Regions from separate parts of the Homo sapiens genome. Here region 2 is linked to region 1. Evidence: promoter capture Hi-C in human tissues and cell types (Jung and others, 2019). All regions are on one chromosome and are shown on one strand. Each heading gives the region's core, a stretch centred on a gene start or on the middle of the fragment in contact. The rest is flanking DNA. Distances are from core to core; before and after follow the strand shown.

Region 1 (4,265 bases), core at 359-2,858:
AGTAGGGTACACAAAAGTATGCAGGATTTGTACGCTCTATTCTGATGAAATAGAATCTAGGGGTTCCATGAAGAAGATTAACCAATGTCTCCAAAAGCTAGGTGATAACATCAGAGGAAGGAGCCTCCCCTTGTAAGGAGTCTTCTCAGATGGCAGGGAAAATGTGCCTATGACCAAACACCATATGAATATGAAATCATGGAAACCAATCATCCTAAGGAGAGAGTAACTAAACAGCTATCACACAGGAATAGAATGGTAGTTAATGCTGACTTCTTTATATTCAGGTTTCCCCACTTAGATTGTTACATATTATATGATATGGTAACACCTGAATGAGGCAATGGAGGGTGAATACATCAATAAACAGAGATGAACAAGTGGTAGAGCTCAGCTGCTGGCTGTGCACAGCAGTAGCTATCTTTGTCTCATCAAACGTGGCCAAGTGAAACCCCTAACCTTGTTTTATCCATAGTTGTCTTGTTGACTATTTATGTTGGGCTGGATGGACACCTGGGAGTCATAGCTTAAACCCAAAACTTACCACACACGTACTACATGATCTTGGCTAGAATATTTAATCTAAGTTATACAAACTGTGTTGTATGGAATGGATGTTTGTCTTATATTACAAATGGAGAAATACACTCAGATTATGAATACTACACTTTTAACATAGTACTGGCACATACTGTGTTAATAATAAAGTGCTTAACTTTCTAAAGGATAAAGCTTTCTTGTTTGGAACATCTTGGTTATCAGGAAGAGGGAGTTAGTTGTATTAAAGAACCATAACAACTTATTGGGGAGGGGGGGTCATCTATAAGGTAACCCTAAGATTTTCCTTGTAGTAATTTAATCTATTAACTGAACCAAAGTGAATAGGATCCAGGGTAAATTTAGAGAAGGTAAGGATTATATTTATTTATAGATAATTTATAATCACCTGTAAAATGTGATAATGTTATTCTCTAATGGTTTTATTTTACTGAACTTACTAACGTACTTCATGAATCACAAGAATGCTGAATTTATGTTTTGTCTATGCAATATGCTGAGCATATAAAATGTGATGTTTGTTTTCAAGAAGTTCTGGTTTCAACATTTAGTAACAGCACACAGAGATAAGTCATTCTTTCCTCTGTTAATCGTTCTTTCTGTGGAAATTGTTTACTGTAATGAGTATATATATCTTCACTCAAGTGACTTGTGACCACAGCTATGGATCACAATCTTCCTATAAGGCACTTGAGTGAATACCATAAACTCATACAGTACTGGAATTGTCGATTTAGTCCCTACAGGAGATTTCAGGAAACTGCAAAAGAGGTAATTAACTTAACCTGGGCATGGGGTTGGGTGAGGAAGAGAGCAGAACACAAGTCCCTAAGGAAGGAATTCACGAGCTGATCCTTCAACAATGAATAGAAACTTGTAAGGAGGATGAAAAGTAGCACAGTATTAGAAGTCATTTTTCTGATCCTGCCATACCACCAAGCTGAGAATATCCCTAGGTTTTCCCAGCACCACAAAGAGGAACTAATCTTATAGGACTGCACCATTCTCTTACATCATCTATACATTAATAGGCAAGAAGTCTCACCTGTGATGCTGGGTCCAGCTTACAACCACACAATGGAAACCCCTGCCTCCTTCCTCCTTGTGGGTATCCCAGGACTGCAATCTTCACATCTTTGGCTGGCTATCTCACTGAGTGCCATGTACATCACAGCCCTGTTAGGAAACACCCTCATCGTGACTGCAATCTGGATGGATTCCACTCGGCATGAGCCCATGTATTGCTTTCTGTGTGTTCTGGCTGCTGTGGACATTGTTATGGCCTCCTCCGTGGTACCCAAGATGGTGAGCATCTTCTGCTCGGGAGACAGCTCCATCAGCTTTAGTGCTTGTTTCACTCAGATGTTTTTTGTCCACTTAGCCACAGCTGTGGAGACGGGGCTGCTGCTGACCATGGCTTTTGACCGCTATGTAGCCATCTGCAAGCCTCTACACTACAAGAGAATTCTCACGCCTCAAGTGATGCTGGGAATGAGTATGGCCGTCACCATCAGAGCTGTCACATTCATGACTCCACTGAGTTGGATGATGAATCATCTACCTTTCTGTGGCTCCAATGTGGTTGTCCACTCCTACTGTAAGCACATAGCTTTGGCCAGGTTAGCATGTGCTGACCCCGTGCCCAGCAGTCTCTACAGTCTGATTGGTTCCTCTCTTATGGTGGGCTCTGATGTGGCCTTCATTGCTGCCTCCTATATCTTAATTCTCAGGGCAGTATTTGATCTCTCCTCAAAGACTGCTCAGTTGAAAGCATTAAGCACATGTGGCTCCCATGTGGGGGTTATGGCTTTGTACTATCTACCTGGGATGGCATCCATCTATGCGGCCTGGTTGGGGCAGGATATAGTGCCCTTGCACACCCAAGTGCTGCTAGCTGACCTGTACGTGATCATCCCAGCCACTTTAAATCCCATCATCTATGGCATGAGGACCAAACAATTGCTGGAGGGAATATGGAGTTATCTGATGCACTTCCTCTTTGACCACTCCAACCTGGGTTCATGAACACAATATCTGTTCAGATCCAGAGCATTCTAGCCAACTTCAAAGATGCCTCAGAGATCTGTGGAGCTGGATTGGTTTACCTGGTACTATAAGGAAATCTGAGATGAAGCTATAAAGGATATCTTTGTGTAACTTTTAAATTTCTACCAATAATATGAATGAAATGTTTCTAATTTTCTGACATTTTTAATGGGTTAATATGATAGTGTCTGAATCAGAGTAAGTTTGGTATAGAATACAGCTCTGTAATTTTTCCTTCTATAGCTTCTGACCTATATTTCCTACCTAATATCCTACCATCCCCTCTGCTGAAGAGACCAACTGTTTGGTATCTTCCCCTTAACCTGACTGATATTCTCAGAACTGTTCTTTCCTCCAAGTGATTACATGGAAGAAGCTATTAATATATGACCCTGCCCTCTGGCCCAATAGTGATCTCACTCCATTTGGGTCCTAATGCCCACACCTAGACCAGGGTCCTTCCCAAGCTGTATGGTCTACTGTTCATCTGGGGAGATATAAACTTGGGATCAGAGATGGTGGTAATTCTACAACACATAAACTGGAAGGAGAAAATTGGGATTGGCCCATGCATCAAAAGCCAATCACCAAGAACGGATGAAGAGAATAAGTCCTTGGTTCTCTGATTCCAAATCACTTTGGACACCCAGGTATATTGTTATGTTCTGTAAAATACCACTTAACTTTTAAATGTATCTCCTATTGTTAAGCTAGTTGGAGTTAGTGAACCAATTACCAGCTTTTTGTTTTTAAGCAACAGAAGCTAAGTTAATATAAGTTTGGTTTTGGAAATCTTTCTTGTTGCTTCCTAGTCCCAGTCCGTGTAACTTAACCTTAAGGCATAAAAGAAAGGGATCAAATATACACAGGTCTTTCTTCTTGTGGGCACCTCTCAGGGGGTGTGCTCTGTGATGAAGAGGCTAATAGAAAACAATGTAGATAAAGAAGTTGACAATAGCAAAGACTTGGAACCAACCCAAATGTCCAACAATGATAGACTGGATTAAGAAAATGTGGCACATAGACACCATGGAATACTACGTAGCCATAAAAAAATGATGAGTTCATGTCCTTTGTAGGGACATGGATGAAGCTGGAAACCATCATTCTCAGCAAACTATCACGAGGACAGAAAACCAAACACCGCATGTTCTTACTCATAGGTGGGAACTGAACAATGAGAACACATGGACACAGGAAGGGGAACATCACACACCAGGGCCTGTTGTGGGGTGGGGGGAAGGGGGAGGGATGGCATTAGGAGATATACCTAATGTTAAATGACGAGTTGATGGGTGCAGCACACCAACATGGCACATGTATACATATGTAACAAACCTGCACATTGTGCACATGTACCCTAAAACTTAAAGTATAATAAAAAAAAAAAAAAAAAAAGGAAGTTGAAATGTAATCACTCTTCTCCAGGTCACTGGATGCTTCCATGATTTTTGGTTTTGTTTTTCCCCTTCAGAAAATCTTGAACTGAGTAATCAGTATACGTTAAAAGAAAAAGATCTTATATATAAGAGATATGTACATTTGAAAATCTTAATAAAAAGATAATTTCCTACTAGTGTTAAAATTAAAGTGCGAGAGGAAACTGTTAACAGCAAGCTACTATATCTGAGTCTTAACACTTCCTGTCTACTGAAAAACAA
Region 2 (4,165 bases), core at 215-2,714, 39 kb after region 1:
AACCTGACAAAAACAAGCAATGGGGAAATGATTCCCTATTTAATAAATGGTACTGGGAAAACTGGCTAGCCATATGCAGAAAACTGAAACTGGACCCCTTCTTTACACCTTATACAAAAATTAACTCAAGATGGATTAAAGACTTAAATGTAAAACCCCAAACCATAAAAACCCTAGAAGAAAACCTAGGCAATACCATTCCAGACATAGGCATGGGCGAAGACTTCATGACTAAAACACAAAAGGCAATGGCAACAAAAGCCAAAATTGACAAATGGGATCTAATTAAACTAAAGAGCTTCTGCACAGCAAAAGAAACTATCATTACAGTGAACAGGCAACCTACAGAATAAGAGAAAATTTTTACAATCTATCCATTTGACAAAGTCTAATATCCAGAATCTACAAGGAACTTAAACAAATTTACAAGAAAAAACAACCCCATCAAAAAGTGGACAAAAGATATGAATGGACACTTTTCAAAAGAAGGCATTTATGTGGCCAATAAACATATGAAAAAAAGCTCATCATCTCTGGTCATTAGAGAAATGCAAATCAAGACCACAATGAGATACCATCTCACACCAGTTAGAATGGTGATCATTAAAAAGTCAGGAAACAACAGATGCTGGAGAGCATGTGGAACACTTTTACACTGTTGATGGGAGTGTAAATTAGTTTAACCATTGTAGAAGACAGTGTGGCCATTCCTTAAGGATCTAGAACCAGAAATACCATTTGACCCAGCAATCTCATTACTGGGTATATACCCAAAGGATTATAAATCATTCTACTATAAAGACACATGCACATGTATGTTTATTGCAGTGCTGTTCACAATAGCAAACACTTGGAACCAACCCAAGTGCCCATCAATGATAGACTGGATAAAGAAAATATGGCACATGTACACCATGGAATACTATGCAGCCATAAAAAAGAATGAGTTCATGTCCTTTGCAGGGACATGGATGAAGCTGGAATCCATCATTCTCAGCAAACTAACATAGGAACAGAAAACCAAACACTGCATATTCTCACTCATAAGTGGCAGTTGATCAATGGGAACACATGGACACAGGGAGGGGAACATCATTCACCCGGGCATGTCAGTGGGCGAGGGGCAAGGGGAGGGAAAACATTAGGACAAATACCTAATGCATGTGGGACTTAAAATCTGGATAATGGTTGATAGATGCAGCAAGCCACCATGGCACATGTATACCTATGTAACAAACCTGCATGTTCTGCACATGTATCCCAAAACTTAAAATTTAATAAAAAAAAACTACTAAACTATTTTCCGGAGTAGTTGTGCCATTTTACATTCTCGCCTGCAATGCATTAGAGGTTGTTTCTCTGCATCTTCACTAGCATTTGGAGATATGCCATGCTCACTTATTTATAAAATAAAAGATCTATTTCTAGATAATTCCTAATGAAATTTATAAACTGCAAGTGAAAAAAAAAACTATCTGGCATGCATCTAGACAGATATACCTACAGAGGAAAGCTAAATCATACTGGCTGGCATGTAAGCTCCACAAAAGCAGGAGAGTTTGTCTGTTCTGTTCATTAAAGTGTTTCCATCACTTAGAAGAGTACCTGTCATATATTAGGCACTCAATAAATATTCATGGATGAATTAACTGCATTAAGAAGTCAATCTTTACTTGAGGTCATAAAAATATTCTTTTATATTACTTCAGGAAGGCTAATTGCTTTGCCTTTTGTACTTATATATGAAAACCACAAAGATTTAATTCTTATAAGTAGTGTGAATTTAGGGTTCAAATTTTATTTTCTTCTATATGGATATTCAGTTATTGTAGTATCATTTAATAAAAAAATTCTCCTTTTCTGATTGCCTCACAGAATTACCTTTGTCATTTAACAACTGGCTGTGTATGAGTGGGCATACTTCTGAAATTTTATTTCCATTCATTGGCTCAACTGTCTATCCCTGAACAAATACCACATATGCATAATTACTATAGTTTTTAAATTTTTGATATTTAGTATATAAAATCTCACTTTGTCCTATTCTTCTAGAGTTTTGTGGCTAATTTTGGCAATTTACATTTTTATGTATATTTTAATCAAGCTTACCAAATTTTACACAATCACCAATTAGGATATTATTGGGAATGTATTGATTCTATGGAAAAATTTGGGGGCTAAGTAGATTCTTCACATTATCGAGTTTTCCAGTTAAAAAGAATAGTGTTTTCTTCCATTTATTTAGGTCTTCTTCAGTGTCTTTTAAGGATGCTTTGTGGTTTTCTGTGCAGAAATTCCTCTACATTCTTTGTTAGATTCACTCTTAGACATCTGATTTTTCTGTTATTGTAAATGCTTAAAAATTTTATAAAGAAATACAGTGGAATTTTGTAAGTTGACCTTGTATTCAGCAATCTTTACATACTCATTTCTAATAACTTATCAATACAGTCTTTTGGATTTTCTACATATACAATCACTAATCTACAAATAATGACTAATTTCATTTTCTAACTCTCATATCATGTTTCTTTTTCTTGCTTTATAACAGGTTATTAACACAAGGAATCATTTTTATCTTTAGGTACCATTACACTCTTTCTTTTCATGGGAGGTTGTAGGGATTTGTGTGTGACACACATATCATTATCTCGTAACAAAAAACAATGGCATTGGTCATCTAAAAATGAAATTTGGATACTAAAGAAACAAGAAAACATCTTACAGGAAAGACCTTCTTATAGAAATAGCACCTAAAACAGAATCTAAATAAATGTTAGTTTTTAGAGGAGGGAAACAAAGAGGTTGACCATTCCAGATAAAACAAGCATTTGAGCAAATGCTTAGAAGAAGGTGTACAGATAGAGAACTTTATTTAAGGAACTAGAAAGATGCCAATGCAGGGCCGTATTGAGGGAGAGTTGAGGTGTCATGAGATGGGGCTGTCGAATTAGGCAAGTTCATATCTTTTAGGACCTCCTAAGCCATGAGTATATGTTTGGCCAAAGCTCTCCGTTATCCATTGGACCTTTAGCATTCCATTTACATTGAGTGATTTTTCCTCCCTTCTTTCCTTCAAAAAATATTGAAATATAAGTAGAGGGAAAACTATTATTTTTAAAGTCATACTTTGGGTCACCTTAATAAGATCTATTCTTAATACTGTAAAAAGAGAAAAAAAAATGAATGCTTGAAAAGTGCCTGTGGAAATTACGCCAACTAGGTACATAATGTTATTAATATTAATAATAATTTAAGCGGCCTGCCCATTAAACATGCCTCAGTTGAAGTCATAGAGTTGTGAGGTATGAGTGCAGATCAACAAGACCAATAATTTCTGCCTTAAGAGTGGATAGAAGAGGACTCTGTTCACGTTTCCTTTTATACATACACATTAGTGTCCACCCTCCCTACAAAGATACGAAGATATGTTCATAAGTATGAAAAATAATATCACAACGTTAAATGCTATCAGTAAAACAAAGAGAAAAAGGGTAAAGAGGTCCCGCCAAGATTAGGGGTCAAGAAAAGTCTTTCTAAGCAAGGGTGTTTAAACAGAAAAGGCTAAGAATTAAAACTGGGAATAGGATGAGTGTTTTTACCAGGGGAAAAATATATGTGAAGGCTGAAGGGTGAGAGAGAGCATGGCACATTGAAGATGTGGAAATATTTCGGGTCCAATAGGACTTATGTATGCAAAAAGGGAGGTAAAATGGTTGGAGATGGAGATGGAGAGTTGCACTGAGATGGCTTATGGAGTTCCTATGAGTTGGGTTCAGGAGTGTGTTCATTCTACAGGCAATGGGGAATTCAACTGTTCATTCTAAAGGCAATGGAGAATTGCCATGAACTGATATGTGTTTGGAAGATCACACTGGCCACAGCATAGACAACAGATTGGTAGGGAAGTTCTTCTGTGAGTCTGACCAGTGAACAAGTTATTCTGATGATCTAGGCAAAAGACTGTCTTGGCTTGGAATGAAGAAAAGGCAAAAAAGATGGAGAAAGATAATCAGACTCACAAAATAGATATCTAGTAGATAAAATGAACAGAACTTGGTGACTGATTGGATGTGGTTGGAGAGGAAGGTGAGAGAGAGATGGGGAGAAGGCAGGGATGATGATTTCTAAATTTTTGACATGGCCAACAGAGTGATTTATATGA

What was found. The method cuts DNA at HindIII sites, captures the fragments that hold promoters and counts their contacts. A contact is called where the count stands out against the background at its distance.
Region 2: a contact is called between a fragment that was not itself captured here and the fragment with the promoter of OR52I1 in region 1, in 1 of the 25 tissues and cell types used here (adrenal gland).

Annotation. Positions count from the first base shown.
Region 1 is chr11:4,592,431-4,596,695 of GRCh38, forward strand. OR52I1 (olfactory receptor family 52 subfamily I member 1) reads left to right here and starts at 1,609. Exons shown (of 1, transcript NM_001005169.1): 1 at 1,609-2,583. The coding sequence starts at 1,609. The coding sequence ends at 2,583. It overlaps OR52I2 (olfactory receptor family 52 subfamily I member 2), which reads left to right. Exons shown (of 2, transcript NM_001405760.1): 2 at 1-910. The HindIII fragment of the contact is 5,548 bases long and covers 1-4,265 here.
Region 2 is chr11:4,631,842-4,636,006 of GRCh38, forward strand. No RefSeq gene overlaps it. Among named protein-coding and RNA genes, the nearest start is that of OR51D1, 3.6 kb to the right of the region's middle. The HindIII fragment of the contact is 5,020 bases long and covers 1-3,974 here.